Linked DNA regions of Homo sapiens: region 2 is linked to region 1. Evidence: promoter capture Hi-C in human tissues and cell types (Jung and others, 2019). All regions are on one chromosome and are shown on one strand. The core of a region is centred on a gene start or on the middle of the fragment in contact, and the rest is flanking DNA. Distances in the headings are between cores, read along the strand shown. Region 1 holds the start of CABIN1 (calcineurin binding protein 1). Region 2 holds the start of GUCD1 (guanylyl cyclase domain containing 1).

Evidence for each region. Contacts are between HindIII fragments. The study calls those that stand out against the background at their distance.
Region 2: the fragment with the promoter of GUCD1 here is called in contact with the fragment with the promoter of CABIN1 in region 1 in 1 of the 25 tissues and cell types used here (dorsolateral prefrontal cortex).

Annotation. Positions count from the first base shown.
Region 1 is chr22:24,007,459-24,014,045 of GRCh38, forward strand. It overlaps CABIN1 (calcineurin binding protein 1), which reads left to right and starts at 3,846. Exons shown (of 37, transcript NM_012295.4): 1 at 3,846-3,909. It overlaps LOC105372959 (a long non-coding RNA gene), which reads left to right. Exons shown (of 2, transcript XR_001755457.1): 2 at 1-1,409. The HindIII fragment of the contact is 7,958 bases long and covers 1-5,892 here.
Region 2 is chr22:24,552,617-24,559,203 of GRCh38, forward strand. It overlaps GUCD1 (guanylyl cyclase domain containing 1), which reads right to left and starts at 2,522. Exons shown (of 6, transcript NM_001284254.2): 1 at 2,333-2,522. The coding sequence starts at 2,375. SNRPD3 (small nuclear ribonucleoprotein D3 polypeptide) reads left to right here and starts at 3,383. Exons shown (of 4, transcript NM_004175.5): 1 at 3,383-3,455; 2 at 5,041-5,184. The coding sequence starts at 5,059. RefSeq lists a silencer at 2,271-2,630 and an enhancer at 3,091-3,190. The HindIII fragment of the contact is 7,481 bases long and covers 1-5,153 here.

The DNA of each region.
Region 1 (6,587 bases), core at 2,596-5,095:
CCTTCCTAGTGCCCCAGAACACTAGGTGCCCATTTTCTATCCTCAGGTAAGCCCTGGGAGGTGGATACATTATTCCTCCCACTCCGTTTTACAGAGGAGAAACCTGGCACACAAAGTTCTGTGATTTCCCCAAGGGCATGGATTGAGGAAGTGGTGAGCTGGGATTGAATGTGGAGTCTCCCCTGGGTCTGCCCAGCTCCTAGGACTCTGAAAGGATGAGCTGGGGACATTTGGGGAGGAGCCAGCCTCAAGCCTGGGCCTTGCCCGCTGGCTTCAGGTTGTCCAGGTTTATCCGGGTGACCTACGTCCTTTCCCCACCTGGGCAGCTCCAGCTGGCTCAGACTCTAGCCAGGTTCCAGCCTCCAGCTTTAGCCCAAAGGTGCCCCTGGGTCCAGCCTCTGCATCGGAGCTACACAGGCTGAAATGAGGAAGGGGCCTCAGTGATTTGGAAAGATCTCCAAGCCAAGGAAAGATCTCCCCTCTCGCCTCTGCCTCCCCCTACAACTCTGAGCCCCAGAACCCAGGCAGATCCTGGCTCTGACCCTGGGTGGGCACCAGGTCACCATTACCTCTTTGCTAGTAGGAAGTCGCCATCTCTGAGGGCAGGCACCTTCCCCAGGGGGTTCACCTTCAGGAACTCAGGCTTCAGGTGCTCCCTTGGTGGGCAGAAAGGAGAGAAGGCTCAGTGTAGGGCCTGGTCCTTGGCACCCACTCCATGGGGCCCAGCCCAGCCACCTGGCTCACCCCAAGCCAACTCCACCATCCACAGCTCAAAAGGGATGTCATTCTGTCTTGCAAAAGTGGATAGTGTGTCAGGTCCAGGAAGAGCTCAAGCCCCATTGCTGCTCCTCTCACCTGCCCTCCCCAGAATTCTGGACCTCCAGGAGTTGCTCAGCCCTTCTCCACTAGTTCTGAGCTGTTTCCTCTCCATAGTCTGCTGTAGTGGGCCAGAGCACAGGGCAGATTTGTCTTCAGGGACTTTCTCTGGGCATTCCTGGGCAGAGAACTTCATCTTCTCTGTTAACTCTTGCTGATAATTCTCTGTAGCTAGGCACCTTGTAAAACCCATGTCCCAGAATGCCAAACCTGGAAATGCAATGTCAGCGCCGAAACTGCATTGAAACTGAATGAATGAGGTCCCCACCCTCTTATCTAAATATCCTATCAGTCTGTTGAATGTCAAAGTATGTAGGGGTGGTGTGGGGGAGCCTATAGGGAGTCTCCATTTCTGTAGCTTTCCACATGTTCCATGCAGAATTTTCCTCTAATGACCCTTGGACACCGTGGTGGTCACTGTTTCCCTGCATAAACCTTTGATGATCCTTATCTTTAGCGTACCAGTGAAACACCAAATTCAGATTTTCAGTCTGTGCAGTCTATGTAGTTAATAAAATCAATTTCTAATGGAATATGCCTGTGCCTGGTGTGTTTGTACCTAACCACTGCTAAGGACTTTCATTGATAGCTAGACCTTGGAGTTCCTTCCCCTGGACCCCTGACCCAAGTATTTTGCACTCATTCCTCTGCCAGTGTGTTTCATGGTGTCCTGCTTCCCAGAGTGCCTCAGGGAATGCTTGCATTGGATATGAATGAATCGTTGCGGTCACCATGGATGGGATTCAGGCCTAACTCTCACCAAGACCATAAGGCCACAGTCTTTGATATAGATTCCCCATGTTAAATCTGCCATCCTCAGTGTAGTGAGAGTGATATTGAGAGAGAAAAGTTAGGTAATTAAGGTGGGTCCTTGGTAAAACTCCTTTAAACAGAGGAACAGCCTGAAAAATCAGGCTTCAGGCACAGATAAGGAAACTTGCACAAACCTCTGGCTCACTCAGATAAAGGAACAATGCCCAACACAGAAACACCTTTGATCTTTGTGCCTAAGGCATGCCCACAGCTACTTTGATAAGGGAACAAGACCCAGCATAGAAATGCCTTTGTCCTTTGTATAACCAGTGGGCTTCCAGGAAATAGTCTCTTCTCCTTTTGTGGACATGTACACGGTGGGCTACAGTGGGTTCCAGTGGGCACTTTCCTTTCTTGGACGTGCTTTAGAATGTGAGCCTCTGATTGGTCCTGGGCCAGGCTATCACTTCAGCTCCTGATTGGTCCCTCAAGGTCCAGGGGCCAAGCTGAGTAGTGCTTTCTCCAAGACCAGTCAGTACATTCCTTCCTTTCCCAGTCCATAAAACCCCCTGACCCAGCCTCATAATGGGCAACCTGCTTGGGCCCCCCGCCAGCTGCAATGAGCTTTCTTCATTTGCTTATTAAACTTTTGCTTCAACCTTACCCTTTGTGTCCACACTCCCTAATTTTCTTGGTCGTGAGACAAAGAATTCTGGGTGATACCCCACAATGAGAGACTGGTACATTGTGGTGCACGGGCAAGACTGCAACAATATGTTTTCTGCTTGCTTGTTTGGACTGGCCTCTTCCTAACTCTCCAGAGTGCTCTCTCCCCACTGTGGCCCTGAGCTTTGCCTCACGGTAACACTGTGCTGCATGACACTCCAGCATGATCTGCATGTTTCTCACCTCCGGACCTTCCCCACACAACTTTCTTGCTGCTTGGACCACCCTTCCCACCTATTTTCAACTGTTTCTCTCCAGCGCATCTTTCATGATAAGGCTTGAGTGGAAGCTGTATCCGAGGCTGAAGGTTATCCATGCAGCTTTGAAACCATCTGTTTATGCTTCTGTTTACCCCCCAAATACTGTTTACCCCAATACTCAAAGTCAAGGTTGGTGACTCAACAATTTTCAGAACTTCTAGCTTATCAGTATAGCTTTATTGTACTGAACTGAGTTTTTCACCATGCTGTTACTGTCTTTGAGGTTAAAAAGCCCCCAACATTCACTCCTATTTGAATCATCTGTGCAAGACTCAAGCAGCTATGAATTCAACCACAGTGTAAAGTTCTTCCCTACAATGCTTTATTGTTATTCTAGCTCCCAAGAGAGTACCATCTTTCAGCCCAAGACCCTTGACAGAACCCCTTCAACTCTGTCGCCTTTTTTCATCTCTGGAATTCTGACACCACCCATGACCCCTCTTCTTGTTCATTTACTAGGTTTTGTTCCTTTTTTTCCTTTTGTTTCAATATCCTATTGTATCTGTTCCTTTTGGGCTTCACATCCTTTTTGGAAAGAGAGGCACAGGTAATATAATGAATGAGGATGCTCCTCCTCCCTGGTTCCCTCTAAGTCAAGTTTCTCCAACGCGCTGGTCTGCTTGGCTTTGAATGCGGCTCAACACAAATTCATAAACTTTCTTACAACATTTTGAGATTTTTTGGTGATTTTTATTTTTATTATTTATTTATTTATTAACTTATCAGCTATCCTTAGTGTTAGTGTATTTTATGTGTGGCCCAAAACAATTCTTCCAACGTGGCCCAGGGAAACCAAAAGATTGGACACCCCGCTCTAAGTGTTCCCCAAGTTTCCACTGTTTTCAGAGCACATGTCCCAGGTAATAACACACAGCCCATCATTTAGTGACTGCTCAGGGTGCAAGCTGTGGAGAAGAGAGTCCGACTACGAGCTGGTGCTCTAAGCCTCCAGCACGCTAGGACTGACGACGGGGATCCGGAAACAACAAGCTCCACTCCCGCAACACACACACACACACACACACACACACACACACACACACACACACGCACACGCACACGCGCACGCGCGCACACACGCGCACACACGCGCGCACGCGCGCGCGCGCCGCCCAAGGGTAGCCGTCTGCAGGGCCCCAGCTAAGCAGCCCGCGGAGAGCGAGCGGCGCGTGCGCCCCCGCTGATTGGCTGGCACAACCGGCACCGGAGCCAATGGGAGCACGCCTTGTTGTCAGGCGCGCAGCCGGACGGCGCGGTGGTCGGGACAGACTGGCCGTTGCTGTGGAGACGCCTGGTGAGTTCCTGGAAGGCTGGTTTGAAGGCGGTGCCGGGGTGGGGGTGAGGCTCAGCAGAGCCCGGGGCACAGGCCGGAGGGGCTGCAGGCGCGAGGCTGGGTTACGTGAGGAAGCTGGGGGTTTCGCGGGCAGCTTTAGAGCCCCAGTCAGGGAAACCGAGGCCGGGCTTCCTGGCTGCCTCGCGAGCCTCTTCATGGCTCTCGCCGCCGCCCTGAGGTGCCTAGAATGGGTTCCGGCCTCCGGGGAGGTTCCCAGTAACCGCAGGAGCCACCATTGATTTGGCGTCTGCTGGGTGCAAAGCCCAGCGCGCTAACCCTTTACTCGCGACCTTTCGCTTCACCTTCACAGCAGCCCTGCGAGGTGAGTGTTGTTATTGGTGCCATTTACAGGGGTGGAAACTGAGGCCGCGGGTAGGTGAAATGATTTGCTCCAAGTCACCCAGTGGGTGAGCGCGACTCCAGACTGAAAATTTTGACCGTTCTGCTTCACTGCCTCCCCGCAAGAGGCGGGCCCTGGCCAGATGGAACTCACCTGGCATTCCCAAGGTATCTGCACAAGTGGCTTTGGGAGTCACTTAACTCTTCAGGACCTGGGTTATTACAGGTTATAAGTGTGGGACCGTCGGATTCCATGTGGCTAAGATTCTTTCTATGTGATTATTGTGGTTAGAAATAGAATATGCTTAGAACAGTCTCGTTCAGCGGTCGGCAAACTTTTGTTGTAAATATATCAGTGTTTACATTGTTATATTGTAAGTATAATGAGTATAATAGTATTCATAATAGTAGTTTAGGCTTGGGGGGTCCATACTCTGTCTACTTAACTGTAGCGATGTAGTGTGGATACAGCCAAAGACAATACATAACAGACTAGCTGCGTCGCAATAAAATTTTAATTATAGGGACCGAAGTTTTAATTTTATATATTGTTAATATAATTTTCACGTGTCATGATTTTTTTTCCCAAATATGAAAAAATGTAAAAACCATTCTTTGCTCGTGGGCTGTACAAAAAGGGTGGGCTGGTTAGCTTGCAGAACCCTCATCTAGTACAAAGCCTCATACATGAGGGGAAACAGACTGAGAGACTGACATCTATGTCAAGTCAGTCACACAGCCAGGGCACTGCCACCACTGAGCTTAAGACATAGGCTTCCCACCTTCCAGGCCAGGAAACATCCCCAGTTATCACTCTGGATCAGGGTGCTGAGGTCTGAAGGTGTGCTACTCTTTATCGTGTTCTGAGGCCATGGAAACTATATTCTAAGGGGTTTGGAAACTTATTAGCTTAGACTAATAAGCCTGGTGAATGTGCTGCTATCTGAGGAAATGCAGCTGCTGGGCTGGGAGTCAGAAATGAATAGATATTTTTCTTTTTCATGATTATTCAATAGCTTTTGTGTGTGTGTGTGTGACGGAGCCTTGGTCTGTCGCCCAGGCTGGAGTGCAGTGGCATGATCTCGGCTCACTGCAATCTCCGCCTCCCGGGTTCAAGCAGTTCTCCTGTCTCGGCCTCCCGAGTAGCTGGGACTACAGACACCCGCCACCATGCTTGGCTAATTTTTGTATTTTTAGTAGAGACGGGGTTTCACCGTATTGGTCAGGCTGCTCTCAAACTCCTGACCTCAGGTGATCCACCCGCCTCGGCCTCTGAAAGTGTTGGGATTACAGGCGTCAGACACCGCGCCCGGCCTCAATAGCTTTTTTTTTTTTAAAAGCTCCTTTTAGTGAGTTTCTTGGATTTATGGTGAACAATACATAAATGGTTACCATCCTCACATTGCTTACAGATGATAAATATATAATCAAAATGGTTATTTCTTTTTAAGCTTTTTTTTTTTTTTTTTTGAGATGGAGTCTCGCCTGTGGCCCAGGCTGGAGTGCAGTGGTGCGATCTCGCCTCACTGCAAGCTCCGCCGCCTGGGTTCACGCCATTCTCCTGCCTCAGCCTCCCTAGTAGCTGGGACTACAGGCGCCTCTCACCATACCCTGCTAGTTTTTTGTATTTTTTAGTAGAGACGGAGTTTCACCGTGTTAGCCAGGATGGTCTTGATCTCCTGACCTCATGATCCGCCCGCCTCGGCCTCCAAAAGTGCTGGGATTATAGGCGTGAGCCACCATGCCCGGCCTCTTTTTAAGCTTTTTAAACTAATTTTAGATTTAGAGAAAAATTGCAACAATACAAAACGCTCTGTTATGTCCTTCACCCTGCTTTCCCTAATGTTAACATCTTACATAATCATACAATTATCAAGAACAGAAATCTAGTGTTGGTACAGTATTATTAACTACATTACAGATGTGATATGAATGTTACCATTTTTTAAATTAAGGTTGTGTTTTCATTCCAGGACCCTATCCAAGATCCCATGTTGCATTTAGTTATTTCTCCTTGGTCCATAACACTTCCTTAGTCTTTTCTTGTTTTCCTTGGCTTTGATGCTTTTAAAGAGTAGTGATCAGTTATTTTGTCTAACGTCTCTCAATTTAAAGGTTTGTCCAGTGTTTTCTAATGATTGGGGTGAGATTATGCATTGTTGGCCAGAACACAAAGACACATTATCTTTGTGTCTTTCTCAGTGCATCACATGGAGTCCAAGATATTGGAATGTCTTATTACTGGTGATATTTACCTTGATCTATTGGTTTACTTGGTGTCTACCAGGTTTCTACACCAT
Region 2 (6,587 bases), core at 1,272-3,771, 540 kb after region 1:
CAAACATTAGCCGGGCAGGGGCCAGAGCCTCTTATCCCAGCTACTCGGGAGGCTGAGGCAGGAGGATTGCTTGAACCTGGGAGGCGGAGGTTGCAGTGAGCCAAAATTACGCCACTGCACTACAGCCTGGGCGACAGAGTGAGACTCCATCTCAAAAAAAAAAAAAGGAAAAGGAAAAAAAAGAACTTTTTGTTTTCTTCTGAAACAGGGTCTCACTCTGTCGCCCAGGCTGGAGTGCAGTGGTGTGACCAGAGCTCACTGCAGCCCTGAACTCCCAGGCTCAAGGGATCCTCTGACCTTAGCCTCCTGAGCAGCTGGAACTATGGGCACACGCTACCACACCCAGATAATTAAAAATAAAATAAGCCCTCACTGTTTGCTAGGCTCTGGGGACACAAAGGTAACTAAAGACCCACCCAAGCCCTGACCCCTAGGGACTCATAAAGAGCTGAGCAGTGGGAGAGCTCTATGCAGGATGTTGTGCTGTCACGGTGAATGCCTGCCTGTTCAAGAACCCCTCACAGCAGCCACACACTGCCTTTTTGTTTTTCTCTACTCATACTGTTTCCTCCCCAGCTTTTGCTCTTGCACATCCCTTAGTCTAGGAGTGTCCAATCTTTTGGCTTCCCTGGGCCACACTGGAAGAATTGTCTTGGGCCACACATAAACTACACTATCACTAATGATAGCTGATGAGCCTTAGTCTGAAATGTTAATGTTGTCTCCATGCTCTAATCCCTCTCACTCTCAGGGCCCCTCAATATGGAGTCCTTAAAGAGGCAATGAGAATTCTTCAGTGGCAGATGGGGATGAGGTTGCATTTGCCTCCTTCCAACCCTCAGCCCAGAGTAGGCACTTAGATATGCTTGGGGAATGGAAGGCGTTTTCCAAAAAGACCTCATACCTTGAGATGCCCAGGCCTACTTGTCACTTCCCTGCTCTGCACCCCTCCTCCCCCAGGCTTCCAGACTACAGCCCTCTGTGTGAGGCTCCCTCCTTACTCTGTGGCTTGGGCTGTGACACTGACTAGCTGGGCTATCTTCTGCCAGGCTATGACTGTCCATGCCTTTCCATGTCCAGCTATAAAATGTGGCACAAGACAGCAGCTCTCTCTCAGAGACTCAGCTGCGCCTCCTCCTCTTGCCCTGCGCTCTAGAACTCCTTGATCCTGAGGCCTGGCAGGCCCCACAGGGCCATCTCCAGCCTCGGCAAGGGCGGATCGGACCTAGAGGTGCTCATGTTGGGGGTGATAAGGTTAGGCGAGGCCTTGGCATCTGTCCCCATAACAGCTTTAGCCTTCTAAACACAAAGCCACAGCCAGACGTTGCTGCCTGGAGCCAAAGGGCTGCCTGGAAGGCCCTGGCCTGAGCTCAGTTAGTGGCTGTCACTAAGGAAGGCAAGCAGTGCACTAGCCTTTAATACTTAACCCATCTCAGACTCAGTCTGCTCAGCTGCAAAAGTGCAAATCACAGTGGGCACCTACTTCACTGGTTCGTTATGAGGATTAATGAGGCACTGCATGTAAACAACTGCACGCAGCGCGCGCCTGCCTCATAGAACACTCCCTGTGAATGTAAGCCATTCCTCCTCTGAGGCTCAGGAAAGGCAAGTATCTTGTCTCAGACCACAGGGCTAGACAACTGGAGGAGGAGGGTTGTAAATCCCCCACCAACTCCACACAGCAGACACAAAAGGGAACACTCCCTGGGAGTGACACCTGAAGGTCAGGGTCCCACATGCTGTTGACCTCTTCCACAGTTGGCACTTCACTTCAGAGTTTACTAGCTAGAACTCCGTTTGTCATCAACCCCGCGCCTTCAGCAGGACAGGAATCACGTCTTCCCCCTCCCCTACGTCTTGGGCAAGCAAACTAACGGCCAAGACATTGAATACCAGTCCGGGTCTCCGCCCCAAAGGGGCTCAGGCTACCGCGTGGCAGAGAGAACGAAAGTGAAGAACAAGAGCAAGACAAAACGCCGAGTCTCGGAGGCCAGGGCACTGGCCCTTCCATTGCTCGGTGCTCTCGGCCAGTTTCCTGCCCTTCCCAGCCTCAGTCCTCCACGGTTTCCCAAGGCATGGGAGCTCCCAAGGCGGCTCCAGCAGGACTTTTCGCTTCTGGGGAAGGTGGTGCCCCTGCTACCCGGACCTTCCCACCATGCTGACAAGGGTCGCAATCCTGCGAGTGTCAGGAAACCCCCACTGACTGGAACCAGGCGGGTGTGGGGGCGAGGCGGGAGTCGGCCCAAGGTCGCGCGACTGGACCCTGCCCCGCGCTAGGGAGGGGTCCCTTTCGTTCCTAGGGTGAAGACTGGGCCCACAGAGAGGCACTGACCGGGCTCGAGCGGCGGCCCCGCTGCCTCCGCCTCCGTCCTCATGACCCGGGCGGCGCGGGGCGCCCATGGCCCCGGCCCAGAGCGGGCTACAGCTTCCGCTTCGGCTGGGGCGGGAGGGCGGTCGGTGCGTGTCGAGTTCCTTCTCCGCCACCGCCGCCGCTGCGGAGGAGAGAACGGGAGGCGGCGGCTGGGCCGCCCCAAGCGCCGCCCCAGCCCTTCCAGGTCTCGAATCTGGAGGCCCCGCCCCCTCCTTAGGCCCCGCCCCAAACTTTGATCTTAGAGGTCCCCAGCCTCTTGATTTAAGTCTGCTCCGGCCATTCGCCGCCTCAGCGTTGAGTGGCCCCACCCTCTCGCCCAATCCTCGCGCAGACGCGCAGCTCACCAGGACGCGGGCCCCGGAAGCCCCGCCCCTTTCTTTGAGCCCCGCCCCAAAGCTCGTGCATTTCCTGAATAGAGGCTCGTCCCTTCGGCAAGCCCCGCCTCTGCCGGGTCCCGCTCTTTTGCCAGTCCTAGGTGTAAGCCCTGATCCCGCCCAGTGCATCCCCGAGGCCCCAAGCAACTCTCCTCCAACTGTCTTTAGGGATAACCCTGAGCGGGCAGCCGCTCTACTCTATACCTAACTTTATCCGTACCAGATACCTAGCCTCACTCAGGGCCCCCCTTACCTGGCGGTGCCGGGATCAACAAATGAAATTGTGACGGGAAGTCCTGGCCCTTGGCCCAACCTCCTGCTGTCCCCGGTCTGAGGGCCCAAGCCCCGCGTCTCCGCCTTGCCGTCCAGCCTGTCCTTGGTGTGGGGTGCTTGGAAGTGTGAGCACCCTCTCTGGCTCTTTGCCGGCCCCAAGGGTCGTTGCGGCGGCCCCCGGGCCCAGTCATCAGCCCTCTTTTCCGGTGCCGGAACTATCGTACTGGTGCCCTAGTTTCCCAGCCGGCAGGCGGAGTGAGGAGGAAGCGGAGGCGAGACCGCGCTCAACACTGGGGAAAGGAAGGAGGCGGGCCCTGCGCGCAGCATTTTGGGAAAGAGTGGAATTCTGGGTGTTAGGCCCGCCATTCGCTTGACTCACGCCTTCGCCGTAGCATCTTTCGCAGCGGACCGAAGAGAAGAAAAGTAGGCCAGAGCCGGTGAGGCTGGGGACGGGCGAGGGGAGGTCGAGGCGCCTGTGAGGGGCCAGGGGCTGGAGAAAGACTTGCTGCATGGAACTCTGCGGGGCTCGGGGAGGGAAGAAAGCGGGAAGCTTGGGCCACCCAAACATCAGCGTCGCCTCACTAGCTCCTGGAAGTAAGTTCATTAGCTTTCCCCTCAACGTGCATGCTTCTCACATTCTGTATCTCTCCAGGTGAGTGTTTTTCAAAGCTTCCAGGCAGTAATCTCGAAGTCATTTCTGATTGACTATCTCCTTCCCCCAAATCCTATGAGTTTTTTTTTGTTTTTTTTTTTTTAAGTAGAGACGGGGTTTCACCATGTTGCCCTGGCTGGTCTCGAACTCCTGGGCTCAAGGGATCCACCGGCCTCGGCCTTCCAAAGTGCTGGGATTACAGGCGTGAGCCACCGCGCCCAGCCGGTCATTTTTTAAAAAGTTCTTTGTATCTCTGCCCCAGTCCCCTTTCAGGCAATGGTCCCCTCATGCTTTCCACACTGTTGCAGCAGTTTTAACTGTTGCAGAAGTTTTAACAAGTTTCTCTGCTTCTAAACCTTACGTTCTATCCATTTTGTAAATAAATGCTGCTATCTTTTCATTGCGTCATTCTTTACATATAATTCTGCAGTGGTTCTCCACTACCTTCAGCATAAAATCTAGACTCCTAAGGCTGAAAGCCAGGGATCCTCACCAAAGGAGCCTGTCCTTTCAACCTCATGTTCTCCTGTCTTAGGTACGCTTAAGTTGAAACTTAGAGTTGTTGCTCATCTCAATAAAAAGTTCACTGCTTGATGCTTTTGATTAGGTCAAGTCAGGTGCTTTCCCTGATTTTCCTCCATGACAAGCATTTCCTGCATATAGCACGTTGTCACTTTGATATTTTCTCAATATCCTTGATAGTAAAATAAGTGAAGGGTTAAAGGGCTGAATTAAAAGTACAGCCTGCTCTCCTAGATGTGCATGGTCCTTTGGTCTGTATCTGCACCTTCCATAGGGTAGCCACTAGCTACATGTGGCCGTTGAGGACTTGGAATATGGCCACTGGGATTGAGGGACTGGGTTTTTTTATTTTAATTCTATTGTGTTTTAGTTAAGTTTAATTTAAATAGCTACGTGTGTACATGAGCTGCTGTATTGGACAGCTCGGGCCTGTATTATTCTCAAAACGTAATCATCTACAATTAAGGGTTAACAAATAACAGTGCAACAAATTAACATTCCAGTCCCCCTCCCCTGACACACACAGTATTGGCTAATGGTCCTTTAGCTGAAGATTAAGGGACATAGGGTAGCGGGGACACATGACCCATGGGAGATGCTCTCTTTTCATTCCTAGTTTTACTTCTGTCCATCCCATCATTCCTCCTCACCCCACATCTTGCACATATTTGCCAGATAGTTTCCTCCAAACCAGGAGCTGAGCTTTTTTTTTTTTCCTTGGTAGAAAATGCAGCTTTGGTGTTTTTGCTAAGTTTTATGGAGTGCCAGGCCTTAAAGGAAGCATGATGTGTGCCACATGCCTTTTCAGACTCTGAAAGATGAACTGACTGTTGTCTCTCTCATTGTAGAACTCTCTTCCTGCCAAGATGTCTATTGGTGTGCCGATTAAAGTACTGCATGAGGCCGAGGGCCACATTGTGACATGTGAGACGAACACCGGTGAGGTATATCGGGGGAAGCTCATTGAAGCAGAGGACAACATGAACTGCCAGGTATTCTGCTTTGCATGTGAGGCTGTGTGGGAGGAATGGCCCTGTGTCTTGAAGGACAGAAAAGTGTGTGTTGAGGGTCTCTGGAAATTGTTCTCATTCAGCAGTGATTTCCTAAGTGCCTAATGCATACCAGTCAGGTGCTGTTATAGGCTCTGGGGGTGTGGGCATGAACGAGACACATAATCTTGAGGCAGAAAAGCCATTTGGAGGTTTGGAATATTTTACTTTGTCCTTTTTGTTTTTTCCATCCCCAAATATGGGGGTCTATTTGGGAGAAGTGCTACTTCCTTCAGTAGAATCCTTCAGATTCAGGGCCATTATCCATTTGCCTCCACTTGCTTTGCGATTAGCAGAATCTTCTCACCTACTGTATTTGTTTCCCTTTTCTCTTGGAGGAGGAGTCTCATTTGATTATTGCAACTACCTTGTGAGGTAAGCAGGTTTGGTGATAGTCTTGTCATCCATAAAATAGGGAGAATGAGATTAAAGGGCTCATCACTCTGATGATAAATAATGGAGTAGTTTCCTGATATGGTGTCCTTCTCATGGCACAACTTTGCCTTTTGCATAGTCATCTGAATTTTTATAGCATTGTTTTTCAGTTGTATCTTCACACTTTCTTTGTTCTTTAAACCACTGGTTAAGAACTTGGACTTGGGAGTCAGAGAGAGATGTGGGTTTGAATCCTAATTATATGACTTTAGATGTATTAACCACTCAGTTTTCTCATCTGTAAAATGGGGGTGGTATTATGTTGGGTTCTTTGATGTAGATGCCAAGACAGAATTTTGCAAGGTATTTATTGGGGGAAATGACAATAAAGGATAAAAGAGCAAGGAAGCAGTAGTAGGCAGGGAAATTTTCAGTCTATGGTGCTGGTCTGACTGGTGAAATGAGAGGGGAAAGGAAGGAGGATTGAGCAGGAAGAGCCTTAGACTACAGCGTAGTTTTGAGGAAATCTCAGCAAGGCAGCGATTGCTCGTTAGAAGAGTCTAGCATGGGGCAGAAATGGGCGGACTGGCACCCCCGGTGTGTTCAGGCTGGCAACATGGGGAGAGAGTAGCCTCAAGTTGAATGCCATGGTGGACTGCAAAGATGGAGATTGTCGGCTGCCTGCACTCCTCATAGCCTGTTCTCTTTTGAAGGGAGATGTGAGCAGCACACCCTTAAGACTGCCACAGGGGTAATATCCACACCCCCAGGACTTTTACAAAGATCAGATGAGCTGTATGTGTGCCATAGCTGCTCAGTGCCTCACATACTGTGAGTGTTCAACATATGATACCTATTGCTTTTTTCCAGATGAGAAGGTCAGAGAGGTAAAGCACCTTACACCGCGGTCAGGCATCCTGACCATCCATTGGTTTGCAGGGTTCATTTATTTGTGATTTTTCTGTAGCTTT